5 separate regions of the Homo sapiens genome follow, and all the other regions are linked to region 2. Evidence: promoter capture Hi-C in 16 types of primary human blood cells and fetal thymus (Javierre and others, 2016). All regions are on one chromosome and are shown on one strand. Each heading gives the region's core, a stretch centred on a gene start or on the middle of the fragment in contact. The rest is flanking DNA. Distances are from core to core; before and after follow the strand shown. Region 1 overlaps LOC105374264 (a long non-coding RNA gene). Region 2 holds the start of LPP-AS2 (LPP antisense RNA 2). Region 3 overlaps LOC105374264 (a long non-coding RNA gene). Region 4 holds the start of LOC124906315 (a long non-coding RNA gene). Region 5 has its middle 77 kb from the start of BCL6.

Region 1 (2,715 bases), core at 36-2,535, 310 kb after region 2:
GAGTGTTGCCGGATTCTAGAATTGCAAATGAAGCCAACTGAGATCTTTAAACTAAATTTGTTGTAATTTTGTCTTTTGATAAAAGAGATGTAATCATCTAGAGTTCACTAAACCCAAGGATGTTTAAAATGAATGGAGAGTTGGCCACATGCCCGAGGTTCACCTATTCACCCAGGCATTACCATGCAGGCCATTTATTTCATAATTTCTCATGAGAAACTGTGGCAATAGCCAGAGATAACAGAGGTGGCAGATGAGTCAAGGAGGGAGGGTGACTCAGAGGCAGCCATCTCTGCCCCCTTCACTGGCATCCTTGAGCATGCCAGCGTCCATAGAGACTTAGACTTCTGTTTGGATATTGCTTTAAAGAGATTAAAGGATCTGCATTCCTGGAAGCCTCCTTCCCTTTTTCTGCCCTAGGCCCTTCAGACCATGCCTCAGTTCATTCCTTTGTAATGATATGAATTCACATTCCTTGGGAATTTTTTCTATGCCAGGAATTAACTCTGTCTTTTACGCGCATTATCTTTTTTTGTTTTGTTTTGTTTTGTTTTGTTTTGTTTTGTTTTGTTTTGTTTGAGACAGAGTCTCGCTCTGTCGCCTAGCCTGGAGTGCAGTGGCTCCATCTCGGCTCACTGCAAGCTCCACCTCCCGGGTTCAAGCCATTCTCTTGCCTCAGCCTCCCAAGTATCTGGGACTAGAGGTGCCTGCCACCACGCCCGGCTAATTTTTTGTATTTTTAGTAGAGATGGGGTTTCACCGTGTTAGCCAGGATGGTCTCAATCTCCTGACCTCAAGATCCGCCCGACTTGGCCTCCCAAAGTGCTGGGATTACATACACTCATTATCTTATTTACTTCTTACCAACTGCCACACAGATAGGATGATTATTCCCACTTTACAGATGAGGAACCTGTGGCAGAAAGAAAGTAGCCCATGGTGAGCGTAGTAGTGCCTGATAGAGCTGGAATTTGAAGATAGGTTGTCTGACTCTAGAGCCCATGCCTCCGGCTACTCTGGAAGTCTGCCTTCTGTAAACAGGTAAACTTGGAATGTCTGCATCACAAGACAAACCCCATAATCTCAAATAGCAAGTGAAAGCTGAGGATCCTTAGACTTGGCTTGTAATAGAGCAAGAAACCTAGAGGAGAGGAAATTAGTTAAGGAATATTTTTAGGCAGTCTTCTTCCTATGCAGGCAGCCACAGAAGGCCTGGCTGGTGGAATATATCTCACTAGTTCTTGCTGGTCGTTGGAGGAGGTCAGTGGTCCTTAGGAAGGAAGAGAAAACAACATTTCTGGAAGAGAAGGAGCCGAGCTGTTTAACAGCTCTCTTCCAGACTCCACTTCTCTGTATTCTTTGTGCAATGCTTTTTTTTTTTTTTCCCTGGGGGCGGGGTGGGGGGAGTTGTGATGAAATTTATTACCCTCAAACACAGCTTCGATCATGTCTCCTACTGCTCAAGAACCTCCAAATAACAGTTTCCCAGGACCTAAATCAGCAATCTTCAAACTTCTCTAAATATGTAACCCTAGTGCTGAAGAAGACTGGCATGTGCACCTCGATAGATTTATGGTACATGTGTGTGCCTGTGTGTAGAGCCATGCCAATAGATTATGCACTTTATAATAACAAATTAAAACTGGGAAGTATAACAGAAGATATGAACATGAAATGAAGACTATTTTCAAATGCATGCTATTCTTAATGACATCTTACTATCTTTTCTACTGTCTCAGGGCATAATCCACACCTTAGACAGGGCTCACCATTAATAATAGTGAATGTAAATCCATACTTGAAGCACTCTTCCTGAAAATTTGAATTTTTTTTGTTTACTGTTTGATATATATGATCAGGTCATCATTAGTTTTATCCTCCCCAAAATGTGGCTAAAGGAAAGCTAGGATAGGAGAAAAGTCAGCTCTGCCATTTTCTTGTCGTTTGCTTGTGTTCGTTATAAGTGCTATTCTCAATCCACAAGTTCTTTACAGAAATCTTTTAAAAATCACTGGTCTATTATGTGACTTTTTATTCAGTTAAATCTGTATAAAAATCCATAAACCCATGAAACTAGATAATTAAGAATGGTGTTGTGGGTACCTTGCAGACCCTCTAGGGCATAAAATTTCGACCCCTCCCTCAGAATAGCCTTAGTTGGACATGTGGCAAGAAACTGTGTGAACAGGGATCTAACAAGGATCCCATATTCAATCTGTATATGAAATAATAGTACTTTTAAACTTTTCCCTTTTAAAAAATAAAAGTAAACCTGAATGAAAATTCATTATGATTTGCACACCCTTCTGAGAGCGCACACTGCACTTTGGAAATCTTTGATCTACCGAGATAGGATTTCTTAGGCTTCCAATATCAGTGACCTACTTCTTTAGCCACACCTCCAATCATCACCGTACCTGCCCCATTCCGTGATGACCCACACACTCAACTGTACAAACACATAGGGCTAGTCATCTTCTCTGGAAACTTTCTTACCACAAGACCTGGCTCAGGCTGTTCCCTCTGCTTGGAACACCCTTGCTTTCCTTTGCTGCCTTTAGAAATTTTACTAAAAACAATGCCATCTAACATTTATTGACTTCTTACTACGTGCTGGACACTGTTGACAATTCTAGAAGGTAGGTGCTATTCTGAGAAAGCTGAGGAGTAGAAAACAGTTCAAAGCCAGTCAGCTGGGAAATGAGAAATCCAGAA
Region 2 (2,700 bases), core at 85-2,584:
CATCAACACCTTAGTGAGAGTGAATTTTACAGGAAAGGCAAGAGATTTAGTAAAAGGGGAAGGAATGGAAAGAGAAAGGGGACTGGAAACACAGTTAAGTGAGTTTGGTACTAGCAAAAGCCCCAGAGAAGACCCTGAGTTCTCGCTAGTTGTTTTGTGTTGGGGGAGGGAAAGCAGTGGATCCCTTCTAAGGGAAGGGAAGCCAGAGAGATTTTTCAGTTCTCCTACGACTCCGAGGTTCCAAAGACTCTGCCCTGTCCAAGCACCCAGGCACAATTCCACTGATTAGCTCATCTCATATCACAACCTCCCCCATCCCCAACCCCTTGCCTCCAACTAAAGAATATTTATACTTTCATCTCCATTTCCCACACTACTTAGTCTTCTCTGGCCCACGGTTCCCTCGAAGAGATGTCTTCCTCCAAGCCGCTAGCTGGCTTCAGGAAACTCCTCAACCTCCAAAAACCCCATTCAGTGCAGGACTCTCCAAAAGGCCGTCCCAGGGACCAGAAAATCAAACCCCCTCCCTGGAACTTCCTTTAACTTTGTCCACGCCTTTGCTCCAGCACTTAGCATTTTCTACCCTAGGCCAGGTTTGACTCCCAGGTTCAACTGAGTTCCTTGAGGGCAACGTCCAATACACCCAGCACAGGGTCTGCCACACACAGGGTGCTAGAGAAATGCTTAGAGAAAGGGAACTTAAGTCCGGAGCCAACTATTTGAATTATGGTCTGGCCTCTAGTAAATAACTTCCGGGCGACCCTCCTTCTCTCTGGGCCTCAGCTGCCCCAACTGTAAAATGGGAGGACTTGGAGGACTGGGTCTAGGCCCTTTCCGCTGTGACAACTGTGATTCCGCGAAAGCTCTAAGCGGATGGGCGTGGCCCCGCCCCCTGGGCGCCCAGAAAAGTCCGGGCAGGGGGCGCGCAAGGCTCCAACCCCGCCTAGCCTGGGGTCGACGCTTTTGGAAAAACTCTGGGTCCCCCTCCCCCATGGCGTGCACCCCGTGATTGGGCCGCGGCCGGCACTTCCGCACAGCGGGCCAGGCCAGAGCAGGGCGCGCGCCCTGCGCTCTTGCCACCCCGGAGGCGCTCGCGCCGGGGGAGGGCTGGGGGTTCCCGAGGCGCCCGCGGGTGGAGGGTGAGGGGAAGGAAGGATTTGCAACAATACCTCAGGGAGGAGGCAGCCGGGGCAGCGGCGGTGGTGGTGGCGGCGGCGGCGGCGGCGGCGGCGGCTGGAGGCGGAGGCAGAGGCAGAGGAGGAGGTGCCCGGGCACTCCCCCTCCCATTGTCCCCAGCCCCGGACAGGCCCGGCCCCGCGCCCCACACTGGCCTCCTCGAGCGCGCCGCCCGCGCCCAGCGCCCCACGCCCCGCGCCCCGGGCCGTGCAGCCAGCCCTTACCTTGCAGCGCCCGGCTGTCTCCCGATCGCTAAAGCTACTTATCCCGGGAAAGCTCGCGCGGGACCCGGGAACGAACCCACAGACAAAAAGTGAAACTTCGGCAGGGCTGGAGCGGCTGCTGGTTGGTGCCTTTCCCCCTCCTTCCTCCCCACCGTCCCCACCCCCTCCCCTTGGTCTCCCGTGCGGTGCCCTGAGCGCTGGAGGCTGACGTCAGGGGCCTGAATTCCTGACTTTGCCTGCACGCATTTGTCCATGTAAGGTATGGGAAGGCGTGTGCCCGCGAAGCCGCCGCGCAGAGCTCGCCTGGCGGGGGAGGGGAAACCCGCAGCCGGCAGTGGCTTTGCCAAAAGGTGGGCGCACTGAGGGCATTGCATTTCCTGGGAGGAAGAGGAGGAGACGCGGGAATGCAGGGAGCTTGCAAAGGAGGAAGAGAAAGAGGGAGATGTGGAGACTTTGCCCCTGCTAGAGGAAGAGGAAGGAGACGTAGGAGGAAGCGGCCGCGTCAGGGGGCTCCTGGAAAATGGAAAAGCCTGCGTCTACTATTAAGGCGTCAAATTAGGGCACTGAGCTTGAGTGGAAGAGATCCAGCCATGAAATCCCCTTCCAAGATTTTCCTCGTGAGCCCCGCCCTGGATTCCCAGCAAGACTCAAAACTTACAAGGTGTCAGAGCTGGCAAAGACCAACTTCCAACCCGTCCGCTTGGCACGTGAGGAAACTGAAGCTCTCGGAAGAGAAATGACTTGTACAGGGTCGTCACTCAGCAGATCGAGGAGCGGGCCCAGGCGCTCTGCCTCCCACTTGGGTTCCCGCCTCCAGGAAGGGCCCTGGCTCCCTTTTAGCCCTGAGCCTTGAAGCAGGTTAGATGCCCGCGAGCTGTGCGGACCACCCAGTGATTTCTACTGCTCTTGGCCCAGAGCCAGTTCCTGGAAGGTCCTGGTTGACAGCGAGCCCTGAATATCAATGACAATCAGTTGCTTCAGGGCAACTTCCTCTGTCCTGTGCTCAAATAAATGAATCCCTGGAGTTTAACGTTTACTTCTGAGCCCCGCCCAGAAAGCTTGCTCTGTGCTTATAGCTTCAAAAAAGTCTGCGAACGAGATGAACTGGTTTGAATACAGACAAGCCTGTCATTGGAAGTTTTGAGTTGGATTTTTCTTTCCCCTCTGACATCTGTAAGGGTGAACGACGATGAGAACCACCACTTAACTGTGTTAGGGGATTATGACGCGCAGCAGCCATGGCCAGGAAAGCATTCCATACCCTGAGACTTCCTTTCCTTGCACTTCTCTCCTATTAATA
Region 3 (2,993 bases), core at 464-2,963, 280 kb after region 2:
TATCAAGTGATATAGTCTCACATGTTACTTCCATTTCTTTAACATATTTCTTTGGAATTGAGTTTGTGAATTTAAAAAAGAGCCAGAAGTAGTTGGATGTGGCACACGACATGGTGTTGCACAACAAATTCATACCAAGAAAAACGCCACCATTATAACATTCCACCACACTTATTAGTGTATTTTTCTGCATTTTAAATAAAAATTTAATATATACATTTTTAGCTTTGTATAATGAAATAATTTTAAACTTGCAGAAGAGTTGCAAAAATAGTACAATGAATTCCATATACTCTTCCCCCATATTCCCCTAATGTTAACATTTTTACCACACTTGCTTTATCGTTCTTTTTCTACAAATATATAGAAGGGTTTTTTTTTTTTCTCTGAACTGTCTGTGAGTATGCTGTAGACATGATATCCTTTTACTCCTAAATACTTCAGGGTGTATTTCCTAAAAACAAGGATATTCTTTTAACACGACCACAGTATAATTAGCAAAATTATGAAGTTAACATTGATACAATATTAATGTTAATCTATACACTCTATTCAGATTTTGCCATTTTTTGCATTAAGGACCCTCTTGCTCTACTCTCATATGTTGGCATGGTTTGCCAATGATCTTTTCTCTGGTGAGGCCTTTTATTGTGATGGGATTCCCTTTACTTTCGGTGTCAAAATATCCTTTATTTGATGGGACAATAGTATTTTTATTTACTAGTATTTTTAAATGTTTATTACACAAAATTAAAGATGTCAATCTTATGTCATTTCTTCTTATTTTATTGATTCATTAGTCAAGTTTAAAACCACTGGCATAATTTCGCTAGTCCTCTATTGTTGGACATTTAAATTGTTTCCAGACTTTTAAAGTTCAAACACTGTGGCAGTAAGCAAACTTATATATTTATCTTTTCATTAACATGTGGTTATTTTTGTAGGATAAATCCAAGAAAATAGAGAAGATCAAAAGAAGATACATAGCTGAAAACACTTGAAGGTATAGACTACCTTGAAAGTCACGCAAGAACTGTTCTTCCTGCTTTCCATATCCAAGGTAAATACATTATCCCAATCAATCAGTTACCAGGGTTAAAAAATTGTCTGCAGATGTGAAAATACATATATATATATATGTAACCCCTGCCTCCCGACTTTCTCCAGAGATGAGCTTTTAATTGCTGTGCATTGGAGAACAATCAACTTTCCCTCTTCAGTGTCAGGGTGACACAAATTTCTGCAGGCCCAGACTCTTACTACAAATCCACTTATATCTCTTCCATCTTGGCTGCCAAAAGGGTGTTTTCCTCTGCACCTAGCATTTTGAGCAGCCTAAACAGGTCAGGGAAGCAGAGAATAGCTTCCATGTGCTCTAAATCAACTCTGAAGGTTCAGTAGAGAGGTCATCATCTTCAGCAAGTAATGTTACCTTTTCCTTTTATTTGGTTTTGGTGATGCTGTTTTCAAGGTATTTGATGAAAATATTTTCAAACTTTCTGTGTTTCCTTAGTCAGAAAACCCTTTGAAGGAGCCAATGGGAAGAGGTAAATGGCTCCAAGTTCATTTTCCAGGAAAGCAGACTTTATATCAAACAGCTGAGCACATTTCCCTTCACCACCTAGAGCTGGCTCATAATCTGAGTGAGATTTACACCTCCCTACACCAAACTGTGCATATACAATCCTAGAATTTTAGAGCTGAGTGGAGCTTTGGGCCAAACTGTGCATTTTACAGATGAGGGAAATTAGCCTCAAGAGTGGAAATGCCTCCCTCCAGGTCTCACGGTGAACCAAGGCCATGGCTCCAACAGGGTGCAGTCTCCTGGAGGTGCAGCGAATCTACTGGGATGCCAGGATGTTAGAACTTCTATTTATGTAATTTTTGAAATGATTATAGACTTCACAAGAAGCTGCCGAAAGAAAATGGAGAGGTCTCACTGCACCCTTCACCTACTTTTCCTCTGTGGTAGCATCTTGCATAACTGCAGTCTTGTTAAAACAAGGAAATGGACATCAGTACAAGCCAGAGTCTGTTTGTATTTCCCGTATTTATATGCACTTATTTGTGTGTGTGTGCTTCTATGCAACTTTTTTGCATGTGTAGAATTACATAACCACCAAGAATTGTTTATATTTTAAATTTAGAAAAGAAAGACAACTGAATGAATGTTTAATAAGTGCACGGGCACTACTGCCTATATTGCTGTTTGTATGTGCATTTGACAATTGCATGCTTTATGACACCTGAGAAATACCTCTCACCTGAGAAGAGGAGTTGAACCATGTGGCAATCTACATTTATTTTTTCTTGAACTCTCAGTGTATCGTCACATTCATCAGTTTACAAGAGCCCCATCAAGCGGATCTATGGATGATGTTATCCAGTTTCCATTAACCTAATCTTTCAAAATGGACTTCAGTGAGTTAAAATGATTTCTGCCTTAAAAAACCTCTGCAAGCAGGCCCGGCGCGGTGGCTCACGCCTGTAATCCCAGCACTTTGGGAGGCCGAGGCAGGTGGATCACAAGGTCAGGAGATCGAGACCATCCTGGCTAACATGGTGAAACTCCGTCTCTACTAAAAATCCAAAAAAAAAAAAATTAGCCAGTCGTGGTGGCGAATACCTGTAGTCCTAGCTACTCGGGAGGCTGAGGCAGGAGAATGGTGTGAACCCGGGAGGCGGAGCTTGCAGTGAGCTGAGATCGCGCCACTGCACTCCAGCCTGGGAGACACAGGGACACTCTGTCTCAAAAAAAAGAAGAAAAAGAAAACCTCTGCAAACAGTAGATTGAAGATAATACTTACGTTGCAAACACAACCAGACAACAAGGAAATGGCAGAGTTAACCCTTTCTACTCCTGGTAAAAACTCTGCCAGCCATGTGACAAGATAAAAGCAATTATCATCTAACCTGAGCTGACAGGAAGTCAACAAAGGACAAAATAACCTGTCCAGAAGATATTTTGAAAACGGATTTGTATCCATCGTTGT
Region 4 (2,924 bases), core at 412-2,911, 260 kb after region 2:
AGGCTCTTTCTCAAACACTAAAACCACAATTTACCTAAAGCTCGCCCTGGACCCTCAGAATCATTTATTTGCCACAACCTCACTAGTCTTCTCTGACTTGATGAGGATTACAAAAAACTCCAACAATCATCTGGTAAATTTGCTCAGAGGAGCAGAGAATATTAGAATGCAAGGGGAAGGCATTGGTGGAGGGGGCTAACATTCATCAACCACTTAAGTCAAGTTTCAAGACTCTACTTTTCCACACATACTATCTAATTTTACACTACTGTTCTATTTTTGTGGCTATTATCCCCATTTTACAGAAGAGGAATCTGGGGTTAGAGAGATTAGGTAACTTCAGAAGATCGTAGGAGAATGTGGTAAAGCTGGCTTTCCACACTGTGTCTAGTTCATCCCTTTACAAAAAAAGGAAAACGAGAGGAATTGATTGCCTCAGGATCATGCACTTACTTGGTGCCCCTTGAGTTCTAAAAGTCAGGCTCGCTGAATAATTTGTCTTGACCCCCCACTTTGAATCTACTCCCAAAGGGCTTTCCCCTGTTACTAGAGATGCCCCTGGCATGTGTCTCTGCTGCTGTAACCAGATTCAGCAGCAGAATGGAGAAAGGGGCATGTCCCAGTTGCTATTGAGGCATAACAAAGCAACCCAAGCTTAGTAGTTTAAACTGTGGGTTAGAAACTTAGGGGAGACTAGGCTGGGCATTTATGGCTCGGGAGCTCTCATGTGGTTGCAGACAGTGGCTGAAGCTGGAAGAGTTGGGGAGGAGGGTACTGGAGCAGTGGGAGGCAGGCCAGGCATCTTTCAGGGTCCCTCCACATAATCCTTCTTTATGGACCACTTTGGGTTTCCTCACAGCATGGCAGCCTCAGGGCAGTTGGACTGCTTCCTTGGCAGTTCAGTGGTCCACATGCTAGACCCTAGAGAACAAGGAGGCAATGGCATCATTTTCTTTATGACATACCTTCAGAGATCACACAACATCACTTACTCTATATTAGAATGATTGAAAGTGAGTCACAACCCCACCCAGATTCAGAGGAAGGAGACTTGACCTCACCTTTCGATGGGAGAAGGCCATGTAGTATGGCAGTCTGTCATGGCGAGAAAAGGCTGCAACAGTCGGAGCAAGATGAGGGATCTCAAACACTGAGAAGAGGGCCAGTTATTTGTGCACAAGAATATAAACACAGTCTCTTATTGACAGAGAAGCGCCTTTATGAAGAGAACCTGGAAGAACACTAGCAATACCCTATTACTTAGCAAAAGAGTGTATTAAGCTGACAGCGGGACAGGGGCATATTAGAGAAGGTCCCCAGATTATGTCTGGGAAGATCAATCAGTTTGGCAAAAAGCTCACAGAGCAGGGATTCCTGGAAGCTAGTAGAAAGAGTTCTATACAAATTGCCAGATTATATCTTACAGACTCAACCTTTTCTTTGAAAACATTAAAGAACTTAAGTTTTCTAAATCGCTTAGTTGCCTTAAAACATCCCTATGTTCCCCCCAACTTAGCCGAACGTTAATAGATTCTGGATATATATTAATGACCATTTCCATTCAATTATCCTTCGATAAAGCTATTTTAAAAAAATGAAAAGGAAATGCTATCTACCAGGTTGCTTTTTACTTTATTTGATGTATTTTTATTTCTTAAATGAGCATTTACCTTTACCAAGTTCTATTCTATGTTCTGGTATAAACAAACATGAGAGCACCCTGCCCTCCACAGGTGAGAGCCACCCACTCAATACAGAGGGGGCAGGGGGTACGGGGGGGGGAGCCATGTGTATCCCATGAATGAAATCCCAGGCCCACGTTTCTGAAGGTACCATGTGGAAGATAGTATTTAAATCCTGCTGTGTGTATGACTGATTTAAACCCCTGGTTCAAGTACATGGTTGTTAGTTGAGCGTTCTCCTCGGGTCATTCATTGTGTGAATTAAAAGAAACAAGGTATGTGAAGTACTTGGCACTTGGCATGTGGTGGGCATTCAGAAAAGTGGACTGCTTTTATTGGGTTGGGTTTTATTATAATTTAATATTAACATTGTGGTATGAAAAGTGACTTCCTGTTTACAAATCACTTTCTTATTTTTCATCTTATTTAATGATAGCAATCCAGTGATTCAGGCATTGTAATTATGGTCCCGACTTTACACACTGGGACATTGATAGTCAGGGAGGTCAAGTGACTTACCTGGGGTCTCTTAGCTAATACGCGGCAGAGCGGGGATTTGGAACCCAGCAATGACACCAAAGCGATCCCTTTTCACCTTACCATGCTGTTCCCTAAATTGACAGATGACCTTGTGCAAGCATTCCATAGCCCACCCTTCAATCTGGCCTTCAATTTCTACATCTGCAAAGTGAGAGGACTGAATTAAATTATGTTTGAGGCCCCATCCAGGTTCCAGCGACTCTGATTAAAAGCGTATGTTCAAGCACAGACCCTGCTTGCTGCAGAGCTCCTTGTGAAGATCCGAGCCCGGCTCCAGAGGGGGCTAGAGCCTGGACCTGTGCCCAAATCACAGGCCTGGCTTGGCGTCCATCACTGTCTTTGACTGCCAAAGGACAGAATTCTCTAGAGGACCTAACTCCAATCTGGCCAACTTCTGATGGCCTAAATTATCCTCTGACCTCGAACTTTTGATCATCTGAAGCTTATTTTAAAAATGGCTTAGAAATAGCCATTACATCTCTCTGGAGACCCCTTCCTTTCTTACCCTCATTACGTTCCTCCAACAACAGGGAAGGGAAACTGCGAGACAGGCAATCTGTATGTAATTTTTGTCTCTACTGCTGCCTTTCTGTGTGACCCTGGGCAAGTCATGTCATAAACAGAGGCTTATCAATAAGGGTTATCCTTTCTTAAGGATCTAGGAAGCCATGTGGCTTCCCCTTCAGAGAGAATTGGAAGACC
Region 5 (2,962 bases), core at 306-2,805, 330 kb after region 2:
GTTTTTCCCCAGATCGTACAACTAATAATATGCTGCACCAAATTTAGGTCTTTTAACTCAAGATCTCCAAGTCATTCCAGTATGACACTTCCAATGTGACATTGGGGCTGCCTAACAAACAATCCATGAAAATAATGGACTATAAGAAAAGCAGGGATGCCTATTTGCTCCTGCTCAAAATCTTCTTTTATTCACTGTGAGTTCCATAAGCACAGCCCACTCTTTCCCGCTCCCCATTCCCAAATCTCTCCTGATTAGGCCTGCAGTGACTAATGGTTGTTGTAGCAATGTCTGTGAATTTTTAGGGTGGAGTTGGAGGACCTCATTTCTGAGCACTTTTCCCCGTAATCACCTTCATAAGAACATGGTCCAGATGTGCTCTCTCAATATATTAAAAATTAAGCTCATTGTGTTCTCTCCAAACTTTCTCTTTGTCTGTAGTCTTTAGCTCTGTCCATAACATGCTCACCTGCCTGGATGCCTCAGTAAGCAAACCAGAGGCCATCCTAAGCTTCTCTCCTCCACTTTCTTTCTCTCCACCATCCAATCTGTACAACTAGTTGAGTCTTCCTCTGGGGTGGTTCTTCAGTATACGTCTATATCCTGACCCTAAGGCCACTTTCAAGTCCCCATTGGATCTCATTTGGGTTTCTGCAATACAGTCGCCTAACTAGTCTCCCTGTCTTTCATTTCCCACCAGTCTCTAAAATGAGGAGTATAAGGGGAGATTCTGCTGTGTACATAGCGGAAGGAGCAAGGCTGGGATCCATCTAAAATGCCATATAACTTTTTTCAAGATCAAGCAACAGACAATGCCAGTATGTGTGCTTGTTTCTGTCCCCTCTTACCAACTTCCTCCCCACCTTATTCTCATCACATTTCCTTCAAAGAAACCACACTGTTGAACAACAGTTGGGCATTCTAAAGCAGGACTCTATGCTTGGTCACAAAAAATGGCATCCTGGCCTAGGCCAGAAGGAAGATCATAGACAGCAACACCTAACAGGAAGTTGACATGACCTCAAAACACACATTACACTTACATGCTGGGCAGGGGCTGAGGCTCCCCAGGATGCTTCTAAGCAGAGGTACCCAAAGAGTTTTTCTGCAGCCCCCTTAGGGACACACAATCTGCTTTGAATCTTTGTTACTCTTTCTTTGTTCACAGTCCCCTGCTCTCTGAGGTGCTATTCCACAGCAGGGACCAAGTGATGAGAAAGGACCACTAGGTTTTGGAACCAGAGGCCCCTGGTGATCATGGTTAATTCTCTTCACCTCTTGGATCAGTTTTCTCACCTGTTAAGTGACATTCACCAAACTCTCCTCATGGGTCACATTGAGAACTGAGAATCCCATAACATATTGAGGTTGATGTCTGAGAGGGTGAGGACATTGGTTTTGTAGTCAGAAGAACTGGAGTTTAGGTCCAAGGTGTAATATTCACTATCTAATGTAGGCCCAGTCAGTGAGCCTCTCTAAACCTCTGCATCTTCATCTGTTAAATGTGATTAAGACTATGTCTCTCATACAGGGCTGTTGTCGGGGTCAGGTGAGACAATGCCTATGAATCATAAATTACAAGACATATCTAATGTTATAATATTATTCTAGTTGTTATGGAGTGCTTTCTAGCAGGTAGATGTTATATCATGGCAGAATTCTCTTTACAGCCTAACTCAGCATCTTGCTTGTTAGAGGTGCTCACTGTATATTTGTTGTCTGGGATTCATCACACTGAGTCTCTTGACCCTGCCTGCTTGGGGAGAGCATGCCTCCAGGGTATATGTGATGCAGAGTTGGAAAATCCCAGTGAAAGGGATCCTGGCTTGTCTGGAGGTGGCCTGTTGCTGTGGGTGGTCAAGACACCAAACAGTGGTGCAAGAACTACAAGACGAGAGAGATCCTTCCAGGTGGGGAGCACTTACAGAATACCTAGGAGCATTTTGGTTAGATTGCCTGTTTACATGTGAGGGTACTCACACATGTTTCTGGTGTGTGTGTATGTGTGTGTGCATGTGAAGAACAGAGAACATTGGTCTCTTTGACCCACCAACCTTCTGCAGCCAAGTCAGCCATGCCTTCAGTGGAGCTGGGGAAGAATAGAAAGAGTGCTGTACTGGCATCACAAAGCCTGTGCTTTATCCTGGCTCTGCTGTGCCTCTTCTAGGCAGAGCCTCAGTCGCATACTTTGTTTCCCTAAGTCTAACCTTCCTATTCTATAGAACCCAAATTGCCTCACAGATGTCTGCACAGATCACAGCAGGTGTTAAGGAGCAGAAAGCTCTCTGGGAAATGAGAGTCCCCTTCTTGCTACAGGGACACTGAAGCACAAGGAAGACCACTGTCCCCAAAAGCCAGGATCCATTTCTACCTGTAGCACCACTGGCAGCACCTGCTGTTGGAAAGATCTTCTTCCACAATTTCTGAGAACTGTGCTCTACCATGCCATTACAGGGACTCACTGAATACTAAAAACTCTCAATTGTTCATGGATCAAAAGTAAATGAATAGGACACTGTAACCTAAAGGCAAGGATAAGAAAACTGGGATTTAAATGTGCTGGGACTGTAAAAACAAAAATGCTAAGGAGTAAAGCTTTACCTAGTAATGAAAATAAACCAGGAGAAAGAGCACCACACCAGAGCTTAGAAAGCTTCTGTTCTTTCCTGCTCTCCCCAGTTGTTCCCTGAAGACCAGGCCATGTCTTCCTCATAATTGCATATTACTGTGCCTGGCACATACTAGAAAGCTATTTAAAATTATGTACTTGTTAGCATATTGACATGATAATATGTTCACAATGTATCATAGTGAGTTATAACAGCAGTATGGGCAGTGTGTATACATTTCTGTAAAGAAGACTGGAAACTGATAAATATCATTATGTCTGCATGATATAATTCAAAGTTATATTAGTTTTCTTCTTTTTAATTTCTAATCTGTAATTTTCTACATACAGCAT

What was found. The method cuts DNA at HindIII sites, captures the fragments that hold promoters and counts their contacts. A CHiCAGO score of 5 or more calls a contact.
Region 1: a fragment that was not itself captured here is called in contact with the fragment with the promoter of LPP-AS2 in region 2 in 1 of 17 cell types (neutrophils); the score reaches 8.6 in neutrophils.
Region 3: a fragment that was not itself captured here is called in contact with the fragment with the promoter of LPP-AS2 in region 2 in 1 of 17 cell types (neutrophils); the score reaches 8.8 in neutrophils.
Region 4: a contact is called between a fragment that was not itself captured here and the fragment with the promoter of LPP-AS2 in region 2, in 1 of 17 cell types (neutrophils). The highest score is 6.1, in neutrophils.
Region 5: a contact is called between a fragment that was not itself captured here and the fragment with the promoter of LPP-AS2 in region 2, in 5 of 17 cell types (neutrophils, M1 macrophages, activated CD4 T cells and 2 more). The highest score is 8.8, in neutrophils.

What each region holds. Positions count from the first base shown.
Region 1 is chr3:187,839,358-187,842,072 of GRCh38, reverse strand. All of the region lies in intron 2 of LOC105374264 (a long non-coding RNA gene), which reads left to right. Among named protein-coding and RNA genes, the nearest start is that of BCL6, 95 kb to the right of the region's middle. The HindIII fragment of the contact is 7,685 bases long and covers 1-2,715 here.
Region 2 is chr3:188,152,722-188,155,421 of GRCh38, reverse strand. It overlaps LPP-AS2 (LPP antisense RNA 2), which reads left to right and starts at 1,334. Exons shown (of 1, transcript NR_036497.1): 1 at 1,334-2,700. LPP (LIM domain containing preferred translocation partner in lipoma) reads right to left here and starts at 1,265. Exons shown (of 12, transcript NM_001375462.1): 1 at 1,170-1,265. RefSeq lists enhancers at 1-30, 1,830-2,700 and a silencer at 1,058-1,397. The HindIII fragment of the contact is 6,292 bases long and covers 1-2,460 here.
Region 3 is chr3:187,875,074-187,878,066 of GRCh38, reverse strand. It overlaps LOC105374264 (a long non-coding RNA gene), which reads left to right. Exons shown (of 3, transcript XR_924813.3): 2 at 945-1,060. Among named protein-coding and RNA genes, the nearest start is that of LINC01991, 100 kb to the left of the region's middle. The HindIII fragment of the contact is 8,295 bases long and covers 1-2,993 here.
Region 4 is chr3:187,896,442-187,899,365 of GRCh38, reverse strand. It overlaps LOC124906315 (a long non-coding RNA gene), which reads right to left and starts at 1,743. Exons shown (of 3, transcript XR_007096212.1): 1 at 1,062-1,743; 2 at 1-921. The HindIII fragment of the contact is 2,010 bases long and covers 657-2,666 here.
Region 5 is chr3:187,820,658-187,823,619 of GRCh38, reverse strand. No RefSeq gene overlaps it. Among named protein-coding and RNA genes, the nearest start is that of BCL6, 77 kb to the right of the region's middle. The HindIII fragment of the contact is 2,084 bases long and covers 514-2,597 here.